2 separate regions of the Homo sapiens genome follow, and region 1 is linked to region 2. Evidence: promoter capture Hi-C in 16 types of primary human blood cells and fetal thymus (Javierre and others, 2016). All regions are on one chromosome and are shown on one strand. The core of a region is centred on a gene start or on the middle of the fragment in contact, and the rest is flanking DNA. Distances in the headings are between cores, read along the strand shown.

Region 1 (5,176 bases), core at 2,661-5,160, 170 kb after region 2:
CCCCCGCCCGGCCAGCCGCCCTGTCCGGGAGGTGAGGGGCGCCTCTGCCCGGCCGCCCCTACTGGGAAGTGAGGAGCCCCTCTGCCCGGCCAGCCGCCCCATCCGGGAGGGAGGTGGCCGGGAAGGAGGTGGGGGGGTCAGCCCCCCGCCCGGCCAGCCGCCCCGTCCGGGAGGGAGGTGTGGGGGTCAGCCCCCCGCCCGGCCAGCCGCCCCGTCCGGGAGGGAGGTGGGGGAGTCAGCCCCCCGCCCGGCCAGCCGCCCCGTCCGGGAGGTGAGGGGCGCCTCTGCCCGGCCGCCCCTACTGGGAAGTGAGGAGCCCCTCTGCCCGGCCACCACCCCGTCTGGGAGGTGTACCCAACAGCTCATTGAGAACGGGCCATGATGACAATGGCGGTTTTGTGGAATAGAAAAGGGGGAAAGGTGGGGAAAAGATTGAGAAATCGGATGGTTGCTGTGTCTGTGTAGAAAGAAGTAGACATGGGAGACTTTTCATTTTGTTCTGTACTAAGAAAAATTCTTCTGCCTTGGGATCCTGTTGATCTGTGACCTTACCCCCCAACCCTGTGCTCTCTGAAACATGTGCTGTGTCCACTCAGGGTTAAATGGATTAAGGGCGGTGCAAGATGTGCTTTGTTAAACAGATGCTTGAAGGCAGCATGCTCCTTAAGAGTCATCACCACTCCCTAATCTCAAGTACCCAGGGACACAAATACTCTGCCTAGGAAAACCAGAAAAAAAAAAAAAAAAAAAGAGGTTTTAGTACAGCTTTGGGTATACTGGAAGCAGTTTTATTTGCAGAAGGTAAAAGGCTGTGCAATAGACTGAATGTTTGTGTCTCCCCAAACATGTTGATATCCTAACCCCTAATGTGATAGTATTAGAAGGTGGGACCTTTGGGAGGTGATTAAGTCATGACAGTGGAGCCCTCATGAATGGGATTGGTGCCCTTATGAAAGGGACCCCAGGCTGGGCGCAGTGGCACACGCCTGTAATCCCAGCACTGTGGGAGGCCGAAGCAGGTGGATCACCTGAGGCCAGAAGTTCAAGACCAGCCTGGCCAACATGGCGAAACCCTGTCTCTACTAAAAATACAAAAATTAGCTGGGCATAGTGGTGTTTGCCTGTAATCCCAGCTACTCAGGAGGCTGAGGCAGGAGAATCGCTTGAACCCAGGAGGCGGAGGTTGCAGTGAATGGAGATGGTGCCACTGCAGTCCAGCCTGGACGACAGAGTGAGACTCTGTCTCAGAAAAATATAAATACATAAATAAATAAATAAAAGGGACCCCAGAGAGTTCTTTCCACAATGTGAGGATACAATGAAAATTTAGCTGTCAGCAACCCTAAACAGCATCCCTACCAGAACCTGACCATGCTGGAACCGTAATGTCAGACTTCCAACCAGAACTGTTAAGAGAGAAATTTCTGTTGTTTATAAGCCACCCAGTCTATGGCACTTTGTTATACCAGTCAGAACTGACTAAGACAGAAATTGGTACTGAGAAGTGAGGGGTGCTATGTAACGAATACCTAAAAATGTGGAAGTGGCCTTGTAATTGTAATGACTAGAGGCTGGAAGAGTGCCATGGTTTGAATGTTCCCTCCAAAACTCATGTTGACCTTTAATTGCCATTGTAACAGTATTGAGAGGTGGGGTCTTTAAGAAGACATTAGGTCATGGGGCTGTCACCTTCATGAATGGACTAATGCTGTTATTGTGGGAGTGGCTTTGTTATAAAAGTGAGCTGTCTCTCGCATGCACCCTCTTGCCATTCTGTCTACCCATGATGGGATGATGCAGCATGAAGGCCTCATCTGATGCTAGCACCATGCTCTTAGACTTCCCAGCCTCCAGAACTGTGAGCTTGTTAAGCTTCTTTTTAAAATTATTTTTATTTTTTATTTTTTTGAGACAGAATCTCACTCTGTCACCCAGGCTGGAGTGCAGTGGCACGATCTCTGCTCACTGCAACCTCTGCCTCCCAGGTTCAAGCAATACTCCTGCCTCAGCCTCCCGACTAGCTGGGATTACACGCATTCATCACCAGGCCCAGCTAATTTTTGTATTTTTAGTAGAGATGGTGTTTCACCATGTTAGTCAGGCTGGTCTCAAACTCCTGACCTCAAGTGATCCACCCACCTTGGCCTCCCAAAGTGCTGGGATTATAGGTGTGAGCCACTGCACCTGGCTGAGCTTCTTTTCTTTATAAATTACCTGGTCTGTGGTATTCTGTTATAGCAACAGAAAACAGACTAAGACATAAATTTGGGTGCATGCGCTAGAAAAATCCTATATTGCCACCAGGTGCGGTGGCTCACACCTGTAATCCCAGCACTTTGGGAGGCCGAGGTGGATGGATTATGAGGTCAGGAGTTTGAGACCAACTTGACCACCACGGTGAAACCCCATCTCCACTAAAAATACAAAAAAAAAAAAAAAAATTAGCCGGGCGTGGTGGCGCACACCTGTAATCTCAGCTACTCAGGAGGCTGAGGCAGGAGAATTGCTTGAACCAGGGAGGTGGAGGTTGCAGTGAGCCAAGATTGCGCCACTGCACTCCAGCCTGGGCAACAGAGCAAGACTCCATCTAAAAAAAAGAAAAAGGAAAAAAAGAAAAATCCTATATTGCCATTGAATGGACCTTTAAAGGTGATTCTGATGAGCAGTCAGAAAGAAATGAGGAGAGCTGTAGAGAAAGCTTCTGCTTTCTTAAAGAATACATAAGTAATCATGAACAGATTGGTGGTAGAAATATGGGTGGTTAAAGGCTGTTCTGATGTGGTCTCAGGTAGAAATGAGGAACGTGTTATTGGACAGTGGAGAAAAGGTGATCCTTGTTATAAAGTAGCAAAGAACCTGGCTGAATTGTGTTTACGTTTTAGTGTTTTGTAGAGGGTAGGACTTGTGAACAGTGAAATGGAGATTTAGCTGAGGAGATCTCTAAGCAAAGTGTTGAAAGGAGAGGCTTGGTTCCTCCTGACTGCTTATAGTCAAATTTGAGAAGAGAGATATGAATTGAAAACAGAATTGTTATGCAAAAAGGAACCAGAACTTAAACTTACCCAAGCTATGAGGGTGACATTGCTCCCTCAGTGGGTCTGGAAAATTCTCAGCCTGTCCCTGTCCATATTACAAAACATGACAAAGCATGTTTGGAAGAGAACACTAAGGATCTGCTGGACTATTTGACAAGGAGATTACTGTGAATGTGAACTGTGGACTTCATTAACCATCTCAACAAAACAGCAATAGCGATGGGATTGTACTGGAAATGGCACTGCTGACTGGGACTAAAGGAAACAGAGAAAATGGGACAAAATGGCTGGGCACAGTGGCTCATGCCTGTAATCCCAACACTTTGGGATGCTGAGGCGGGTGGATCACCTGAGATCAGGAGTTCAAGACCAGCCTCACCAACATGGTGAAACCCTGTCTCTACTGAAAATACAAAAATTAGCCGGGTGCGGTGGTGCACGCCTGTAATCCCAGCTACTTGGGAGGCTGAGGCAGGAGAATCACTTGAACCCAGGAGGCGGAGGTTGCAGTGAGCTGAGATTGCACCACTGCACTCCAGCCTGGGTGCTGGGCAACAGAGGGAGACTCTGTCTCAAAAAAAAAAAAGAAAAAGAAAAAAAGAAAATGGGACAAAATGAAGGAAGATGATTAAACTTCTTAGATCCTATAGGACCAAACCATAGAACTATTCGGCTGTGAACACACACTGTTCTTCAAGATAAGGGAAGAAGAACCCTGAAGGTGATTCAGAGACCGTCCAGGTCACCAGTCCCATCAGAGGCCCAGAGTACATGGGCTTAGGGCATAGGACTACCTGCACCTCCATTTCTTTTTTTTTTTTTTTTTTGAGACAGAGTCTCGCTCTGTCATCCAGGCTGGAGTGCAGTGGCACAATCTTGGCTCACTGCAAACTCCGCCTCCCAGGTTCATGCCATTCTCCCACCTCAGCCTCCCAAGTAGCTGGGACTACAGGCGCCCACCACCACGCCCAGCTAATTTTTTGTATTTTTAGTAGAGACGGGGTTTCACCCTGTTAGCCAGGATGGTCTCGATCTCCTGACCTTGTGACTGGCCTGTCCTGGCCTCCCAAAGTGCTGGGATTACAGGTGTGAGCCACCACTCCCAGCCTCCACCTCCATTTCAAAGGGTGAGACCAATGCCCAGTAGAGCGGTGGGGATGGAGGCTCCCAGCAGAGCCCTGAGGCTACAACTCCTGCCCTGACAACCACAGCATGAGCAGTGAGTGCTGCCAAACTGTTGTTACCGGGCCGGGGGGTGGGGGTCCTTGCTTCCAGAGCTCCCAAGATGGTGGTGGGCTGCTTCCAAGATGGTGGCAAGCCTCGGGTTCTCTGACCTGGGGTTCTTGGCCTCACGGATTCCAAGGAATGGAGTCTTGGGCCATGCGTGAGTGTTATAGCTCTATTAAAAGCCGTGGGTCACGGAAGAGAACCGTGGAACCCAGTGACTAGTGTTCAGCTCGATTAGGACAAACACAGGCACTTAGCCATGCAGGAACAATGGCAAGCCTTTAGCCCGATCGGGAGCAGCAGTGGACGGCTTGCTGGATCAGGAGCACAGCGGACACCCTGCCGGATCTGGAGGGATGGAAGTCAATGGCGGGTCTGCGACGGCGGCAAACAGCAGTGGTGGACTGCAAGTGAAAGCTCAGCTCGAGCCGTAACAAACACGGACCAGAAGAGAGTGCAGCTGCAAGATTTAATAGAGTGAAAACAGAGCTCCCATACAAAGGGAGGAGACCCAAAGAGGGTAGCCGTTGCGGGCTCGAATGCCTGGGTTTATATCCCTATCATTGTCCCTCCCGCTGTGCTCTCAGGTGATAGATGATTAGCTATTTCTTTACCTCCTGTTTTTGCCTAATTAGCATTTTAGTGAGCTCTCTTTACTCCCTGATTGGTCGGGTGTGAGCTAAGTTGCAAGCCCCGTGTTTAAAGGTGGATTGCGGTCACCTTCCCACCTAGGCTTAGGGATTCTTAGTCAGCCTAGGAAATCCAGCTAGTCCTGTCTCTCACTGTGAGGGTGACATTGCCCCCTCAGTGGGTCTGGCATGAGGGACTGACACCCCAGTAGGTCTGGAGGCAAAGCTTCAAGCCAAAGAGGATTACCTGAGTCTCAAGATCTCACAGAACTTCCCTTGCTAGGT
Region 2 (5,857 bases), core at 3,303-5,802:
CTAGGGGCTGGTGGTTCCCCGCGGTGGTGGTTGCCCTTAGACCAGGAGAGAGGAGACTCTACCCTGGGTCCTGCACTTTAGAGCAATCACCTGCTCAGTCTATGTCTCTCCTAGGGGTGGAGGGGAAGACATCCACATGGACAATCGCGGATCTTGTGTCCCCCTTTTAGGCCTCACTTGGGTATGGGGATCCCAGGCTTTGAGGCCACTTTCAGGGCCTGCACCATCATCTTCCAAGGGACCATCCTCCTGAGGGCCAAGGGGTGGCTTTGTGGGGCACGTGAGTAGAGCTTGAGGTGCTGGCTGGGATGTCGCAGGCACACATGAACACCTCCTGATGTGGGGAAGAGAAAAGGAGAGAGCGGAGAGAAAGGGAGAGGGCACTGAGGGTCGGGAGGCCCCAGTACAGGCACACTCTTTGGCAGACAGGCACATTCTGGCAGGGAACTCTGAGAAGGCTGAGAAATTGGAGCCTGGGTATCCAGGTCACTAATAAAGTGTATTTGCCAAAGTAGGATAGGGTGTATTTCATTTACTTTGTAAAGCTTGATTCGTAATGTCTGAACGTTTACATATTTAGTTATGTAGTGTAGAGGCCTACCTGTACTCTTGCTCCAGGCCCTGGATATACTGAGGGTTGCTGTGGTGGCAGCTGATTTGTGGCCATGGTCTTTGCACTGGCTAGTCCCTCTGCCTCTGGATATCTTCAGGTTTTTGTCCAGATGTCACCTACTCTCAAGAAGGCTTTCCTGGACCTGTCACCCTATTCCTTCACCTGCCTTTAACACGTAGCCTTTATCACTATCTAGCCTGATGCCATATCTATAAGGGCAAGGATTTTTAAGTGTCTTGTTTGCCTCTACCTCCCTTATATATAAAGCGGAGCCTAGCACACAGTGGGCTCCCCCTGAATTTCTTGAATGAAAGAATTCTCACAACTCAAGTAACATTCTACCCAGTCTCACTCCCACCCACACAACACTCGGCATGGAGGCAGCTTTGAAACCCAAAACACCATTTATTTAATTTTGCACAAAATCTTTCAACTTGACATAACAAAAGCAACATTAGGCACTCCCATGTTACCAAAAAGCCCCTCACCAAGTGAAAACAAGAGAGATGTCCATCTTTCCCTAGTATACCTGATGTGTCCCTCAAAGCTAGTTGCCTCAGGGGTCTCATGTCAAATGAACAATCACCCTGGCCTGGGGAAAGGTCTACATTTCTTGGCCAAGACCTTCAGGCCACAGAGCAGCCACAGTGGCAGGTGGCCTTCTGGTGCCGGGTCTTCTCCCTACAGGACCTTGCCATGGGCTCCTTCGCCATGGCCTCCTGGACCCTCTGGATCTCATGGACCAGCAGGGAAAAGGCCTCCTCCACGCCTTGCCGTGTTTTGGCCGAGGTCTCCACGAAGTGGGCCCCCCAGCTGTGTGCGAGGGCTGCAGCAGCGGCATGAGCATCTCCAGCAGTGGTCACAAGGTCACACTTGTTGCCCACGAGGACAAGGGGCTGGGCGGGGTGAGGGCCCCAGGTGGCCCATATCTGCTGCAGCTGGATCAGAGACGAGGGGTCATCGAGAGCGAAGACGCCCAGCACACCATCACAGACAGCCAGGCACTGGTCACGCAGGGCCCTATGGATGGCCTGCCCTGCTGTGTCCAGCACATTCAGAATGCAGTCCCCACTGTCCAGGGTCAACTCCTTCCAGTAGGAATCCTGGATGGTGGGGTCGTGGTCCTCCACGAAGCACTGGTGGTTCAGCTGGATGGTCAGCGCACTCTTGCCCACGCCACTGGCGCCCACCACCACAGCCTTGTACTCAGGCAGCTGCCTGCCAACATCCCTGCGGCGTGCCTGAGCCCGGTGGGTTTCCCCCTGGAAGGAAGGGCTCCATGTGGCCAGGCCCAGGTCGAAGGTGCCAGGCTTTGTTGGCAGCTCCATGACCCCAGCAGGCAGCTCAGGGAAGAGACGTGGGCAGCAGGCTCTGCAAGTGGGAAGAGAAGAAGCAAGACAACAGGGGATACGTTAGGGGAGACCATTTGAGGGCAAGGAGACAGTGGGGTGTCATTATTTCAACATTTATTGAATGCCTATTGTGTGCTGATCACCTTCCAATTTGCATGCTATATATATATGATTTATGTTGTTTTCTCCCTGTCCCACGTCCCCCCATCTCTCCTTCCCTCCTCACGCGAATCAACAACTGTGAAGGCTGGATTTCCCAAACAGCTTTATTGAGATGTAATTTACATCCCATCAAGTTCAGCCAGCTAGTGTCCAATTTAACGGGTTTTAGCATATTCACGAAGTTGTGCAACTATCACCATAAGTAAATTTTAGAACATTTTCCTCACCCAGAAAAGAATCCCCATGCCCATTAGCAGTTCCTCCCCATGACAGAGGGAGGGCAGGATTTTGCCGGTTTTGGTCACCATTGAACCCTAGCCCAGCACAGTGCCTGCCAGACAGTAGGGACCCAACATTCCCACCCCCAGAAGGTTTATGTTCTAAAAGGCAGAGGCAGATAATATAATAAACCAAATAAATATGTAAATCACGTGGTCTGTTAGCCATTATCATTAGAATGTAGTCTTTATTAATTATTCAACATACATTTATTGGGAACCTACTGTGTGGCAAGGACATGGAGTTGGGCAATAAATAGACAACAAACTGTAGCCCTCATGAAGGTTATATTCTGGTCGGGGTGAGAGACAACAAACTAGGTTAAAAAGGGGGCGGGGCACAATGGCTCACGCCTGTAATCCCAGCACTTTGGAGGCCGAGTCGGGTGGATCACCTGAGGTCAGGAGTTCGAGACCAGCCTGCCCAACATTGCGAAACCCTGTCTCTAATAAAAACACAAAAAAATTAGCCAGGAGTGGTGGTGGACGCCTGTAATCCCAGCTACTCGGGAGGCTGAGGCAGAAGAATCGCTTGAACCCGGGAGGCGGAGGTTGCAGTGAGCTGAGATCACACCACTTGCACTCCAGCCTGGGAGATAAGAGCAAAACTCCGTCTCAAAAAAAAAAAAAAAAAAAAAGTGAACTATATGTCAGTAGCGGGTGATAAGCATGCAGAAGGTGCTCAGTTCATGCCAGGCTTTTAAATTATAATTTAATCTCCATTCATTAATTCAAGAATCTTCCTTCGTGCCAGGCATTGTGATATGGCAGTTAACAAAACAGACCCCAGTCCCTGCCCTTGTGAGGATTGGATTCTGGCAGAGAGAAAGAGACAGTAACAAGATAAGGAACAAGGAAGTTGCATGTTCGAAGAGGATGGGCACACGGCAGGTGGTCAATTAGTGTTAGTTATTAGCAGCACATCCCCATTCACTCAGTGAATGCCCCTCGGTGTCCTTGGGCTCAGGAAGTGCCCTGCTTAGTGCATCCTAATGGCTGTTGCCACGACTCCCCTCCGAAAGCCTGGCGCAGCGGCAGTTTGGGGGCGGATGGTGGCTTCGAGGTTTGGTGGAGCTGGAGATCCGGAGGTCGGAGTCGGGGCAAGGTCCCAAATGGGGATGCGGCCGCGGCGTCCTCAGCTCTGAGGGATCCCTGGGAATAGTCACTGGCGGCGTTGGCCCAGAAGGAGCGGGGGCGGGATAAAGAGAGCAGGAAGCGGAGGACGGAGCTTGGGGGTCCCCGACGGTTGGGGACAGGAAGAAGACCTGGAGGACTGCGGGGAGGGGCGAGGCGGCGGCGCACGTGGAGGGAGAGGTCGGCTTCTGGGGGTCCTGTAGGGGTGCCCGGCCATCTTTAGGGATGGGTCAGAAGGCAGAGGCGGGGTCGAGGCTGCCTCTTAAGTCGGGGTCTGAGCGGCTGGAGTCTGGGGGCGCCGACGGTGAGGAAGGAAAAGCCCGGGGCCTGGCCGAGTGGCGGAGCGCAGCTTCCACCCCAGGTGCCTGGCGGGACGGGGCCACACTCGCCCAGTCCCCGCGACGCGCAGGGAGGCCGCGGCCCTGGTCCCCAAGGCTCCGCTCCCGGGAGGAGCCCGAGGCGCAGAGGCACGTGCCGAGGGCACTGGCCCGGGGCCTCAGCCCGCGGGAGGCGCCGGAGATTGGGGGCTCGGTCCTCTCAAGTGGCGCGGAGCCCCCGGCGGGTCCCCGTGGCCGCGCGCTCAGAGCCGCTGGGACCAGGTTGGGGGGCTTCGCCCAGCTCACCAAGGCTGGCGCGCTAAGGGGCCGGGACCTGGGGTTAGGGCGGCCTCGCCAGGTCGTGCTTTCCCGGACGAGGCCGGGTGAGGTGCAAAGCTCGGAGTGCGGAAGGGTCCCCGAAACCAGGACTCCACTTCGGGCTCGGTGTGAGCAGCGTCGCCCGGGCATCCTGTCAAGACCCATCCCGACTCCGGGTGAGGCGGCCCCGCTTCCAGCCAAGCGCCGACACCCCTCCCGGCCGGCCGAGTGAGGGGCCGCTCGCCCGGGAGAAGGCTTGGCGCTTGGGGGACGATCCCCCAAAGCCGGCGCGGGGATACCCCCAGGCCTGGCAGGGCCAGGGGCACCGGCGCCTCGCTCACCTGTGTCCGTGGGGAGGCGGGCGCGCTGGGACGCTCTGACAGGCCTGGCGGGGGGCGACGCTGCTCCCCGGGGCACCCCGGCGGCGGTTGGGGGAGTGGACATGCGCAGCCGCCCTCCCTCGGCTCCTCAGGCCGCCCACCCCCCTGCGCCGCGCCCCTGCCCCTGCCACTGCCCCGCCCCTGCCCGTGCCATTGCCCCGGGGGAGCAAGGGGTCGTGCCCCCCCAGGCGGCTTGCGCACAGGCACGTGGGTGCCACAGCGGCCTCTAGGGGTGCACGGACGGCGGCCAAACCTCCCCGTGTGTCCCCTGTGGCGCCTCTCCCTTGCTTTCCTGTTGGTGGTGTGTGTGTGTGGGAGAGTTGGGTGTTAGATTTTGACCAGGATGGCCTGACTTTGGGAACGGTTTTGTGGGAAGCTCTTTCAGGCCACAGAGCCTGTGCTGCCTCAACTCGGTTTTTTGGTAGCTCTGGAGAAAAGACAGTGACAGAGGAGGGGTCATTCTGTCAGGGAAGAAAGACCCTGATTGGAGGCGGCTGCCTGTCAAACTACACATTTCCCAGGCTCCCTTGCAGCTATGGCAACCACATGCACAGTCCTGATCAATGAGAGGGCAGCAGAGGTGGGGCATCCAGAGGGCTCTTAAAACAGGGCAGCCCCTGGCCCGGGAGTGGTGGCTCACACCCATAATCCCAGCACTTTGGGAGACCAAGGCCAGCGGATCACCAGGTCAGGAGTTTGAGACCAGCCTGCCCAATATGGCAAAACCCCGTCTCTACTAAAAATACAAAAATTAGCCAGGTGTGGTGGTAGGCACCTGTAATCCCAGCTACTCAGGAGGTTGAGGAAGGAGAATCACTTGAACCTGGGAGGCAGAGGCTGCAATGAGCCGAGATCGTGCCACTGCACTCCAGCCTGGGTGACAAGAGCAAGACTCCATCTCAAAAAACAAAACAAAACAAGAACGGGGCAGCCCCGGCCCTTCCCCATCCCTCCTCTTCTTGACTCAGTAAGGCTGTGGTGGTCAGCTTGGGATCATAAGGTGGCCATGAAGAAAAGTCCTGGAAACCTCAGATCCAACTCCCTTGAGCTGCCAAAGCAATTCTCACCACGTGGGAGAAATTCAGCTCTCAGACTGTCCTCCAATTTCCCACCTGTGGTCAATGGCAGGCACCCCTTCTGCCAAGAAGCTACCATGACCACCACATTCAAGTTAAACCTGGACCTCCCACCATCCCCAGTCAGGCCAATGAGACAGTGGGGAAACAGGCCTGGTAAGGATACTTCCTGCTAGTTTTCTTGCCTTCTCAGCCTAGGGTGTGGGTGTGGCTGGGACTGGCTGTGA

Evidence for each region. Contacts are between HindIII fragments. The CHiCAGO score rates a contact against its expected background, and 5 or more counts as called.
Region 1: a fragment that was not itself captured here is called in contact with the fragment with the promoter of ERAS in region 2 in 10 of 17 cell types (M0 macrophages, naive CD8 T cells, naive CD4 T cells and 7 more); the score reaches 8.7 in M0 macrophages.

What each region holds. Positions count from the first base shown.
Region 1 is chrX:48,654,393-48,659,568 of GRCh38, reverse strand. The region is part of intron 1 of LOC124905186 (a long non-coding RNA gene); the gene reads right to left. Among named protein-coding and RNA genes, the nearest start is that of WAS, 27 kb to the left of the region's middle. The HindIII fragment of the contact is 2,419 bases long and covers 2,701-5,119 here.
Region 2 is chrX:48,825,208-48,831,064 of GRCh38, reverse strand. ERAS (ES cell expressed Ras) reads right to left here and starts at 4,552. Exons shown (of 2, transcript NM_181532.3): 1 at 4,516-4,552; 2 at 1,196-1,984. The coding sequence starts at 1,941. The coding sequence ends at 1,240. RefSeq lists an enhancer at 1-133 and a silencer at 4,685-4,734. The HindIII fragment of the contact is 5,532 bases long and covers 548-5,857 here.